4 separate regions of the Homo sapiens genome follow, and all the other regions are linked to region 2. The links are contacts of gene promoters, found by promoter capture Hi-C in blood cells and fetal thymus (Javierre and others, 2016). All regions are on one chromosome and are shown on one strand. The core of a region is centred on a gene start or on the middle of the fragment in contact, and the rest is flanking DNA. Distances in the headings are between cores, read along the strand shown. Region 1 overlaps LINC02539 (long intergenic non-protein coding RNA 2539). Region 2 holds the start of IFNGR1 (interferon gamma receptor 1). Region 3 has its middle 18 kb from the start of LINC02539. Region 4 has its middle 50 kb from the start of TNFAIP3.

Region 1 (2,842 bases), core at 265-2,764, 520 kb after region 2:
CTTTGGGAGGCCAAGGCCGGCAGATCACCTGAGGTCAGGAGTTCGAGACCAGCCTGGCCAAGATGGTGAAACCCTGTCTCTACTAAAACTACAAAAATTAGCCAGGCTTGGTGTTACGTGCCTGTAGTCCCAGCTACTCTGGAGGCTGAGGCAAGAGAATTGCTTGAACCCAGGAAGCGGAAGTTGCAGTGAGCTGAGATCACACCACTGCACTCCAGCCTGGGCGACAGAGTGAGTGAGACCCAGTCAAAAAAAAAAAAAAAAAAAAAAAGAAAAGAAAAGAAAGAAAAAGAAGAAAAAGAAGGGAAGAAAGCAAGCAAGCAAGCAAATGAGCGAGCAAGAAAGGAAGAAAGAAAGAGAAATTGTTAAGACAATACAAATAAATCAAATCAGGGGGATGGAGGAGCATGTGTGATTCTTCTCAAAGGAGGGGTTTTGCAAGGAATGGTCTATATTAGCTTGTAAAGTATGTACAAAATCCATTTTTCTCTGGGCACTTGTCCAATTCTGTCTCTTTTCCACTTTCAGTCAATGCTGATGGTGTGGTAAAGCTTTTTTTATTCAGAAAGAACTCTAGTCAACCTTGACACTTTTTTTTTTTTTTTTGAGATGGAGTCTTGCTCTGTCACCGAGGCTGGAGTGCAGTGGCACGATCTCGGCTCACTGGAAACTCTGCCTCCCAGGATCACGCCATTCTCCTGCCTCAGCCTCCCGAGTAGCTGGGACTACAGGCGCCCATCACCTCGCCCGGCTAATTTTTTGTATTTTTAGTAGAGACGGGGTTTCACCGTGTTAGCCAGGATGGTCTCGATCTCCTGACCTCATGATCCGCCCGCCTTGGCCTCCCAAAGTGCTTGGATTACAGGCATGAGCCACTGTGCCCGGCCGACACTTCTAAACTTAGCAATCCATTTCCTTGACCCTATCAGTTTGTTGTCACTTCCAACCTAGGGCCCCTCAAATGGCAGAAGTAAGTTGAACACAAATTTAGTGATGTTCCTTCCTTGTTTCATTTTATAGCTGCCATTCATCAAATTGCCTTCTTCCTACATCTGCTACCTACTATACAACCTCATTGACACTCTAAACAACACACCAGATAAAACCAGTTTGTTCACAGATCATATGCCAAGGCAACCATATACCAGGCAATTCAATTTTGGACTTTCTGGAATTTCAGGGAGAATTTATCCACAAAGAGCATATGCAGAACCCAGGTTCCCTCTGAAAAAAATTCTGAATTAGTTGCAAAATTCCCATGACACATCATAATTAGGGAGAGATGGACAAGAAGATAAGAGTATGGCTCCAATCAAGGAGACTTCATCGCATATAAATATTTGCATGGCAATCATGAGATCATGCATGCAAACAGCTAGCCCAGGGCCTGCTATATAAAACCATCAAAAGCTTAGTTTACCCCGTGTGGGGCTATCTCAAAGGCATCCCACCCTAATCTGAGGTAACAAGTATTCTGGAAGAATCCAAAGCTGTGGAAGAGGAGAAACACAGAGGAAAGAGAAAGTTGTTTGATTTGTGTTGGTTTGTTTTTTATCCGAACCTGTTTCAGCATTCTTACAGGGAAAAGCCAAGCCTTACCATCTTCCTCATTATTAAACAAGCTTAGAAAGCCTGCAAAATCTTATTTTTTAGCAGACGTTGGTAGCATATACTGTGTATCAATGGAACTGAATGCTCAAGTTAGAGCATAAATAATTTTTGTACATAATTTATATGTTTCTGTAAAGCAAAAGGAATTATGTTTGCATCAGAAGCTTTTCTCACGTTATTGCCAAACTCCCTCTTTTTTCTGTCTGATGTAAGGTCACGCTGTTGCACAATTGGGAACACTGGGGTAATAACGGGAGACAGAAAGGACAGGGAACTGTGCATTTCAGTTTGTTCAAATACATTGGTAACTCATCTCTGTCTCCTCCACACTTCCTCCTGGCTCTATGGGTCATGGTAGAGGAACAATTACGTGGAAGAAATCAAATATGAATGACTGCTTTCCCCCTCCAGCTCTCTTCCCTACTTCCTCCTTGTGATGGGTTTATCACTTTTCCCTCCAGGGTTGTAAATAAAGGCTTCTGGGGTTCTCACGGCTGGAGAGAGAAGTAGTCCCCTCCTATCAGCCCTTACAAACTGTTTTTCAGCAAATCGTGATGAGAACATCATTGTGATATACAGTATCTAATTAATTTCTAACTAATATTAATATTTTGGCCCGGCGCAGTGGCTTGCACCTGTAATCTCAGCACTTTGAAAGGCCGAGGCACCACTTCACCTATTCTATTTGTTTTCTATAACAAAAATTAAGCCCAGAGCACTTAAATGCTTCATTCAAAAACCACCCACAAGATAGTGGTGGAGGTACATATTGAGGTAAGAATCTTTCTACCACATCATGATACTCCTGAGTCAACCCCACGGATATGCTATATTGAGTCATGAAAATGTGACAATATATTTGGGAAAATAGTCTGAGGATCTTATCCAATATAAATACAATTTGCCAACATTTTCACTTATATTCTAAAGCAACATGCTCACAACTAACAATTATGTCTTCATTTTATGCTTTTGTAATAAGGTAGTCTGTCTAGTCTACCTTACTACTAACTCTGGTGTTACCCTTTGTTGTCTAAAAAAGTACCTAGGTTTGACTCATGGCAATGTCTCTTCTCTGGATCTGTTCCTCTGGCTATGCCTCAGTTAATACAATGTCTTCCTAATGCAGTTTCAATGGCCAACAAAAGAGATGCTTGAGCACTAAGAAGAATCCTTTCCAGTCCAATGAGAAACAAAAGTTCCCGTGAATTCCCTTTGATAGTTACACGTT
Region 2 (2,881 bases), core at 127-2,626:
CCTAAGTGCAAGCTCTTACCGCAAAGTACTGCAACTGCCCATGTGGATGACTGACTAGAGCCTAGAAGAGCAGTTAAGAACTTGGACTCTGGAGCCAAATTGAGCAGCTCCCCACTGAGTGGCTATGACCTCTCTGCCAGTTGGGCAGGCCTCTCCGTAACTCAATTTCTCGTCCATAAAGAGAGAGACAAATAACGCCTACTCCAGAAGATTGTTGTGAACACAGAACCAAAACGTGGACCTTTCAAAGTCCCTATGAATCATAAATCATAATAAAAAAAAGAAAACTGAATTGAAAAGGTTTACTGTTTTCTCTGGAGCTCGTAATCACAATTACTCTGCACTTCAGAAAAGCCACCCTCAACATTTGTTTTCTAGGAAATGTCAATAAGCAGGTGGAAATAAAATGCTCCGAAGAACAAACCCGTACGAAGAGACCTACTGCCAAATCTGCTAGTGAGTGCCGGCAATCCACCACTTCCAGACTGAGACCTAAGACGGACTGCCACTTACTTCTCAGCTGCCACTTACTTCTCAGCTGGCGACATAATGCATACTTTCCTACCCTAAGCACTTTGAGTCCCCCCCCCCACCCCCGCTAAGAAAGAAGTATTTAAGCCACGAACTGAGACCACGATGCCACATGCTGATCAGGACACTCACAGTCATGCGTCACTTAACGATGGAGATCCGTTCTGAGAAATGGAGAAATGTCCCCTTAGGCAATTTCTTCGGGCAGTAGAAACCCAGACAAACCCAGATGACACAGCCTACTGCTCTTAGGTCATGAACCTGTACAGCCTGTCACTGCACTGAACACTGCAGGCAACCGTAGCATACTAGTGAGTATCTGCGTATCTAACCATAAAAAAAGGTACAGTAAGAAGACGATATTATAATCTTTGAGACCACGCTGTCCCACATTGACCAGCAACGTCCTTCTGCAGCGCATAATCGTATTTAAAAGTGGATTACAAGAGTCGGAAAAACAAGCGGCGTGATTTGTTGTGGCGGCAACCAGGGAAGAGGCAGGAGAAAGGCAACCGACGAGTTCAAACCACGGAGCCCCAGTCTCGCGACCCCACCTCGCGTCCCCGTCGCCCGCTCAGGGCCCGACGCAGGGGTCCCGGGCTAGGGCGACCTCGGAGAAGCGGGGCGGGGCTTCCCGGCTGGGGCGGATCCCTCCCTCCCTCTCGTCCCGACCCGGCCGCAGCCCTGCCGCGAACGACGGTACCTGAGGACGGCCCCAGATCCGCGGTGCCCATCTCAGCCCTGCTCACACCCTGCATGACAAGGGGTAGGAGAAAGAGGAGAGCCATGCTGCTACCGACGGTCGCTGGCTCCAACCCCGAGCGCCTGCGGGACCAGCCCAGCACTGCCCTCCAGCCCCGGCCTTACGTCACTTCCGTCACCGGGGTCTGTGCCGGCGTCGGCAGGAGGCGGGACCAGGGCGTGGGCGGGGTCAAGTCCGGGAAGCCGCAGGAGGCGGACTCAGGCGCAGCACCCAGCAGTGAGCACGGCGTCGTGCGGTCGGGACCTGGACTTCTGGGTGTGGGAGGAATTTGAGTGCAAAGGTTAAGGTCTTTCAACCTGGCACCCCATTCTGCAATTCTTCTTCCAGTTTTTTTCGGTTTCCTGGGGTTGTGCAAGTTTGCATTAGGCCACAGCCGAGCCACAATCCTTATTTTACTAACTCTTGGACTTCACCTGGTTGTCTTGGAGCCTGACATTTTTAGAAGAGAATGAGACTTCAAAAGCCATTTCCAGTCCCTGCTTTTTCATTTGAGGAACCTGAGACTTAGCTAGTGAAATGGTTTGTGCAGATTCCCACAGCCCAAATCAAATCGGCTTGACCAAGAACTACTTTGTTCTTGGAGAAAAAAACTATTTGCATTACCTTCTCAGCAATTCAGTGTCAAATCAGTTTATCAGGCAGCCTCTCATGAAGAGGTCTGCTCTCTTACCTCTCTGGGTTTGTCTGTTATTTTGCATCTCTCCTATTCCACTGCAGCCACATTGCTAAGTCCTTCAGCGCTTGTGCTCAAACATGCGAATGTCTAATGATCTCACCTGTTTCAATTCTCTGAGTATCATGAACTTTTGTTAAAAATTTTAAATTGCAACACACCTTCTCCTCCTCCTTACCCCGCCCTACTGTTTTTTCATGGCACTTTTCACCTTGCTGTACACTATAATATACACCTTGATATTTGTTTTCTTCTCCTTCTAAAATGTAAGCTCCGTAGAGCTGACATCTTTACTTGGCACTCAATTAGTATTTGTTGAGTGAAAGACTGCATGATTACTAGTGTTAAGGAAAATTTTTAAAGAGGGAAAATCCTTATAAAGACACTATATAAACTAGAGGTATTATCAGCCAGATCATTTTACTTGTATTAATAAATCTCTTAGCTCAGTACTTCTCAAACTTCAACATACATGTGAACCATCTGGGGATCTTGATAAAATGCAGATTTGGATTCAGTAGTTCTAATTCAGGTTGGGTCTTGAGATTTTGTATTTCGGACAAAATGCACAGGGGATGCTGGTGCCCCTTTCAACAGGACCACACTTTGAATCAGAAGAATTTAGCTCAATCTAGACTAAGTTTAGGGAGAATATTTCCTTTGATGTGTTTCTGATGTCCACTATATGAAAGACACCTTCTAGTCGTTGTAAGGATGCAAGGATAAATAACTGATCTTTACCGTTTAGGCGTCTATGGAGTAGGACAAAATATGATATCCAGTTTGTAAACATTTTTGTGGTACTTGTCACAGGCTGGGTTACCCTGGCAGTAAACTCTGAGGTCGAGATTAAGGTATAAGGCATTGATTGATTAGGGAGTGCTCTTGGAATAAACGTCTGTGAAGGGGAGGTG
Region 3 (2,832 bases), core at 278-2,777, 540 kb after region 2:
TCAGAAGGCCTCTCTTAGGAGATGACATTTTGTCTGAGTGCTGATTGATGGAAAGGAAGTCAGAGTGGGTTAAGATCTTGTGAACAAGGACTCCAGCCAGAGGGAGTGGCAAACAGCAAAGGCCTTGGGACCAGAACAAATTTAACGTTTCCAGAGACAAAGAAAAGCCAATGAGGGACACGAAAGAAGTGTTATAAGTGGCATGTTATGAGTGGCAGAGGAGGGTATAGGCTAGGTCCTAGGTATTGGTGGAGTCAATTCAAGTAAGCCCTTGAAGGCCCAAATTGAGCTTAGATTTTATTTTAATTACAATGGGAAATGATGGGAGGGTTTTAAGCAGGAGAGTCATATGATGAAATGTAATTTTCAGAAAGACTATTCTGTGTGCTGTATGAAGAATGAAGGTGAGTTCTCACGGGTGGAGAAAGGCTGGAAGCAGGCAGACCAGGTAGGACACTGTGGGAGTCATTCAGGTGAAAGGTTGCTCAGGTGATCCTCAGCGATGGAGCAGGTGAGATGTGGTTGGATTGGGGATATATTTTGGAGGCAGAGAGGACAGGACTTCCCAAAGAATTAGATATGAGGGAAGAAAGAGATCAGAGATGATTCCCAGATGTTAGACCTGAGCCATAGGCTGATAGGTAAGGCAATGTCATTTGCTAAGATAAGGAAGAGCAGTGGAGAGATGGTTTGGGATTGATGGGGTAAAGATGGTCAGACATCTAAGTGGACATTCCAAGTAGACAGTTAGACATACAGACTGGAAATCAGGACCACACCTGGGAGATAATGCCTTCAATCCCAGAACTTTGGGAAACTGAGGTGGGCAGATCATGAAGTCAGGAGATCGAGACCATCTTGACCAACAAGGTGAAACCCCGTCTTTACTAAAATACAAAAAATTAGCCAGGCGTGGTGGTGTGCGCTTGTAGTCCCAGCTACTCAGGAGACTGAGGCGGGCGAATCGCTTGAACCCGGGAGGCAGAGGTTGCAGTGAGCTGAGATTGCACCACTGTACTCCAGCCTGGCGACAGAGCAAGACTCTGTCTCCAAAACGAAAAAAAAAAAGAAAAGAAAAAAAAAAAGAAAATTGTATTTATATAAAGTGTAATGTAAACTTACATTATACAAAATATCCAATTCAGTTTTACCAAATCGAAAAGAAAAAGCTTGACACTATTAGAAAGTGATATTCACTATTTTTTATGGAATTAAGTATTCTCAAAAACTTTTATTTAAATAACTCTTAAGTTACCTCTATCAACACACAAAAGTTGATTCAGTTAAAGAAAAAACAAAAAAAACTTAATTTCTCTGTGGGCATCAAAATCTGATAGAAGCAAGAAATGATTCAGTTGCAGTATCAGAAACATAGTTTTTATATCAACAAAATTCCTTCTTTGTTTCTTTGTTGGGTTTTTTTTTTTTTTTTTTTTTTTTTTTGACTAAGTCTTGCTCTGTCACACAGGCTGGAGTGCCGTGGCTCCATCGTACCTCACTGCAACCTCAACCTCCTGGGCTCAAGCGATCCTCTTGACTCAGCCTCCCAGATAGCTGGAACTATAGGCATGCACCACCACACCCAGCTAAAACAAAATTCTTATAAAACACAATCATTGATGCTAGATAAAATTCTGTGTCACTGATTCATAGCTTCTGATGGGTATAGTTAAAATCCTTCCTTTGGGGTGGAAAAAAGGGAGAAAGGTGCCCTCAGAGCAGTATTTTTCTTAATATTCTAGTGATGTCCAAGATGGCCTGCATTAATTATAATAAACTGATTTTGGTTGGATTCCTCTATTCTGCTCTGGTAGGGTGCTCAGGCTAACCTGTTCTGAAGATCTCAGAGATGTGGTATCAGGTGAGAAGTCCAAATGCCACATACCGAAGCTTCCATTGAAATGAGCATGGAGAAATGACTAGAGAGATTACCTGCTTCTACTCTTAATACCCAATTAGACCTATCTTGAGAAATCGACTATTGTTGAGTGTCAATTACGGTGATATTTACTATTCATTAAATATCTCCTGTAGGCCAGGCTTATGCATGATCTCATTTTAACCACCAAAACAAATTCAGGTGTTTTTTTTTGTTTTAGAGGTAAGAAAACTAAAGATCAACTAGATTATTATTTGCTCAGAGGTAGAACATGGGTTTATTCACAGTTGTGTCTAAATCTAAATGTAATTCTCTGCCTAGTTTATTATATTGTGCCCATCAGTAAAAATAAACATCACTGAAAATTAACATTGATAACAGAGATAGCTGAAGATGTAGGGGTGAGTTGTTACAAAGACTGTAACTTACTTTCACATGGTTCTGCAAACACATACAGCTGATCCTTATTATCTGCAGTAGTCACATTCTATACAGTCTCTATGAACACTACATTAGCAAATACTGAGCCATTGCTCCCAGGAGAAATACAGGGTTAGGTTCTTGCGAGCCTCTGGTCACAACATTTCTGTCAATGAACATATATATATATAAAAAATCTTGTTTCATGTGTGTTTCTATTTAAAGTCACCTTATTTAATATATATTTTTCACTCATTAATATTGAACTCATGGCAAACTATACTATAACTCATGCCTGAACTAAGCTTCTCTAACACAGATATTTTCTGTTAGGCACATCACAGCCTTTTTGAGCTTAGGATCACTAGGCAGTACTTCAGCACTATGCTCAGGGTCCATTTTAAATAGTGAAATCATCCACAGGAAAAAAAATGCAAAAAAAATGTGACACTGAATAAACTGTGGAAAGGACACTTGCTGAGTTTTGGGGGATTGAGGAGAGATGCAGGATGCATGAGCCCTGCCATCATGGA
Region 4 (3,027 bases), core at 35-2,534, 600 kb after region 2:
ATAATCCCAGCACTTTGGGAGGCCGAGGCGGGCAGATCACGAGGTCAGGAGATCGAGGCCATCCTGGCTAACACAGTGAAACCTGTCTCTACTAAAAATACAAAAAATTAGCCGGGCATGGGGGCGAGCGCCTGTAGTCCCAGCTACTCGGGAGGCTGAGGCAGGAGAATGGCGTGAACCCGGGAGGCGGAGCTTGCAGTGAGCCGAGATCGCGCCACTGCACTCCAGCCTGGGCGACAAAGCGAGACTCCGTCTCAAAAAAAAAAAAAAAGAAAGAAAATGATTCATTTTCCCCACCAATACTCCCTGCAGCCTGTTAAGGTCAAAGCCTCTGGTGGAGGCTGCACAGGTAGTGATATGGGAGTATTGATAACTGTTCTTTCTTCCCCAGTGACTGGTATGGGCCTTCACTGGAATATTTCTCTCTGTCAACTCTGTGCACGGGGTTGAGTCCTGGCCATGATAGTATGAATACTGTCATTCAAGTTTCCCCTGGCCTTACCAGACTGTACAGATAACAGGAACCACCCCAACTCAAATTTCCCTGGTTTTTTCCATAGCCTGGGGATGGTGGACCTTTAATACCCTGTAAGGTATCTTTCAAATATTTCTTGAGGTCCCTACAAGGTGTCTCCCAGGTACTGCTGCATAACATCCCTCCTCTAAGCTGGCCCATGGCTTCTCCTGGCCACTGGCTGGCCAGCAGTGTCTCCTGTTTGCCCCTTCCATGTACTTCCACAGCTGAGGCTCAGGAAAGCTGCAGATGTCCAAGTGACACGGCATTCTCTTTTAAGTAGGAGGAGCGCTTCCTTCCCCTACCCCCTCATGCCAACCACAATGAGGACACCCAGCACTGATGCCCAGCAATGTGGCTTCTGCTCCAGTATATTACAGAGTTCGAATTCAGAATTTCAGTTTCCCTTTGTAGGCTGCTGACTGCTCAGAGGAGGTAGGCTTTCATTCTTAAATATGTACTGATTGCCTGCTCTGTGTAGATGCCTACAACGTGCACAGGGATGAGTGAAACCGCCAAGGACTCTGACCATGAAATTTTCAGCCTAGTCATGGAGAAAGATGATGACCAAGAAATAAAAGCAAATAAATACACAACCACAAATTGAGATAAGTGCTATGAAGGAAACAGGCAGAGAGGTGTGAGAGAAAATAACAAAGGAGCTACTTTCGATCAGAGGGTCAGAAAAGGTCTCCAAGCTCATGACAGTTTATAATAATAACTATTAATAGGACATATTAGAAATCCAGACTTGGAAAAAGGGAGGGGAGGGGTTTTTAGAAGAAATTTATTGGGGAGGATGGGGGTGGTACAAAGAGGAGGAGGAGTTAATATTTTGAGACATTACTATGACCCAGTAACATTCTAAGAACTTTACACATGTTATATTCTTTAATCCTAACACAACCCTATGTAGGAACTACTGTTAACCCTGCTTAACAGAGGTATAAGATGAAGCACAGAAGGGTTAAGTAACTTGCCCTTGTCACACAGCTACTAAGTGGTGAAGGCAGAATTTGAATCCGAGCAGTTTCAGACCCTAAGGAAGAAAAGACTTTGGATTATTTTAGCAACTTAAAGACCAGTGTGACTGAAATGGAAAGGAAAACGGGGAGGGAAATGGGAGAGAAATGGAGTTGGCAAAGCAGGCAGGGCCTAGAGCATGCATGGAAAGGTGGTCATATTTCATCCTCAGAGAGTGTCATGGCTGATTAATTAATGCTGCTCCAAAGGAACAATACTGTTCTGAGGAGCCAGCTGTGGTCATGAAAATAATGATCACCTCTATTACTTTCTTAGGCTGAGGTATTAGAAAATGAGAGTGCTTCCTTTATGCTGAGAAGAAGAAAGGAGCCTAAGATCTTGGGGATGGAATTACCCTCTCTGGCAGATAGGCCAACTTCATGCATAACCCAGGAAACTGCACCACTTCCCAGGACCTACCGGTAGCAACCCATTCCCTGCATTATAGAATGACGGATGGCCAAATTAAACAGTATTCCACCAGGGGGTGAGCACTGGGTTAGTAATACAGGGATGGGGAAGGGCATGGAGAGGAACCAGTTATCAGAGTGGGCCTCTCTAGGGGACAATCTCCACTTTGGCAGGAGCCGCCTGGGGAAACGCCTGTGTTCCTGGCCACGGGCTGCAACTCACAGCCTCTCTACGTGGCTGCCTAACTGGGACAATAAATCCCTGGAGATGAAGAAGAAGCAGTGTCTGGTGTACCCACCAAGTAAACTCTGGTAAGTTATATCCACAGGAAAAGTGAAGAGGCAACAATCTCTTGATTCTTAAGGTCAGCATCTTGTTTGGTTGCTCTCTCCTGAATTCTCTTAGGAGATTCCTCCCACGCTTAGGAAATCTCAAATTTGTCCCACAAAGAATATTAACTCAGTCTAGCCTCCTAAACTGAGTCTAACCTCATCTCTAGTGACATAAACTAGGTAGAATTGGGAGGGGATTTTCCAAATTCTGTTTGCTTGCTTGTAATGGTAAACTTTTCCTTTCTTTTTTTTTTTTTTTTTTTTTTTTTGAGAAGGAGTTTTGCTCTTTTTGCCCAGGCTGGTGTGTAATTGTGCGATATTGGCTCACTGCAACCTCTGCCTCCCAGGTTCAAGTGATTCTCCTACCTCAGCCTCCCAAGTATCTGGGATTACAGGCACCCACCACCATGCTCAGCTAATATTTTTATTTTTAGTACAGATGGGATTTCACCATGTTGGTCAGCTGGTCTCGAACTCCAGACCTCAGGTGATCCACCTGCCTCAGCCTCCCAAAGTGCTGGGATTACAGGCGTGAGCCACTGCGCCTGGCCTGTAATGGTAAACTTTTAACCGATTAACCTGTTCTTGCTTGTCGAGTAATGTGGACATCCATTCTCCATGTTTCCCTCTCCAGCAGCCCCTCAATTTCTGTTTGGGGATACGTATGATACCTGAGAGTCTAATTCCATCTGAGTGGCAAGAAGGGAACACGTGGCCTGGGCTAAGCCATCAGCACGTTCTATCAAC

The links. The method cuts DNA at HindIII sites, captures the fragments that hold promoters and counts their contacts. A CHiCAGO score of 5 or more calls a contact.
Region 1: a contact is called between a fragment that was not itself captured here and the fragment with the promoter of IFNGR1 in region 2, in 2 of 17 cell types (fetal thymus and M1 macrophages). The highest score is 5.9, in fetal thymus.
Region 3: a fragment that was not itself captured here is called in contact with the fragment with the promoter of IFNGR1 in region 2 in 1 of 17 cell types (monocytes); the score reaches 5.8 in monocytes.
Region 4: a contact is called between a fragment that was not itself captured here and the fragment with the promoter of IFNGR1 in region 2, in 1 of 17 cell types (monocytes). The highest score is 5.4, in monocytes.

Annotation. Positions count from the first base shown.
Region 1 is chr6:137,733,137-137,735,978 of GRCh38, forward strand. The region is part of intron 1 of LINC02539 (long intergenic non-protein coding RNA 2539); the gene reads right to left. Among named protein-coding and RNA genes, the nearest start is that of LINC02539, 4.5 kb to the right of the region's middle. The HindIII fragment of the contact is 212 bases long and covers 1,409-1,620 here.
Region 2 is chr6:137,218,009-137,220,889 of GRCh38, forward strand. It overlaps IFNGR1 (interferon gamma receptor 1), which reads right to left and starts at 1,377. Exons shown (of 7, transcript NM_000416.3): 1 at 1,235-1,377. The coding sequence starts at 1,319. RefSeq lists silencers at 558-607, 1,068-1,287, 1,328-1,557 and enhancers at 1,017-1,747, 1,598-1,847. The HindIII fragment of the contact is 10,215 bases long and covers 1-2,881 here.
Region 3 is chr6:137,755,453-137,758,284 of GRCh38, forward strand. No RefSeq gene overlaps it. Among named protein-coding and RNA genes, the nearest start is that of LINC02539, 18 kb to the left of the region's middle. The HindIII fragment of the contact is 721 bases long and covers 1,168-1,888 here.
Region 4 is chr6:137,815,387-137,818,413 of GRCh38, forward strand. No RefSeq gene overlaps it. Among named protein-coding and RNA genes, the nearest start is that of TNFAIP3, 50 kb to the right of the region's middle. RefSeq lists enhancers at 409-458, 789-878. The HindIII fragment of the contact is 7,180 bases long and covers 1-3,027 here.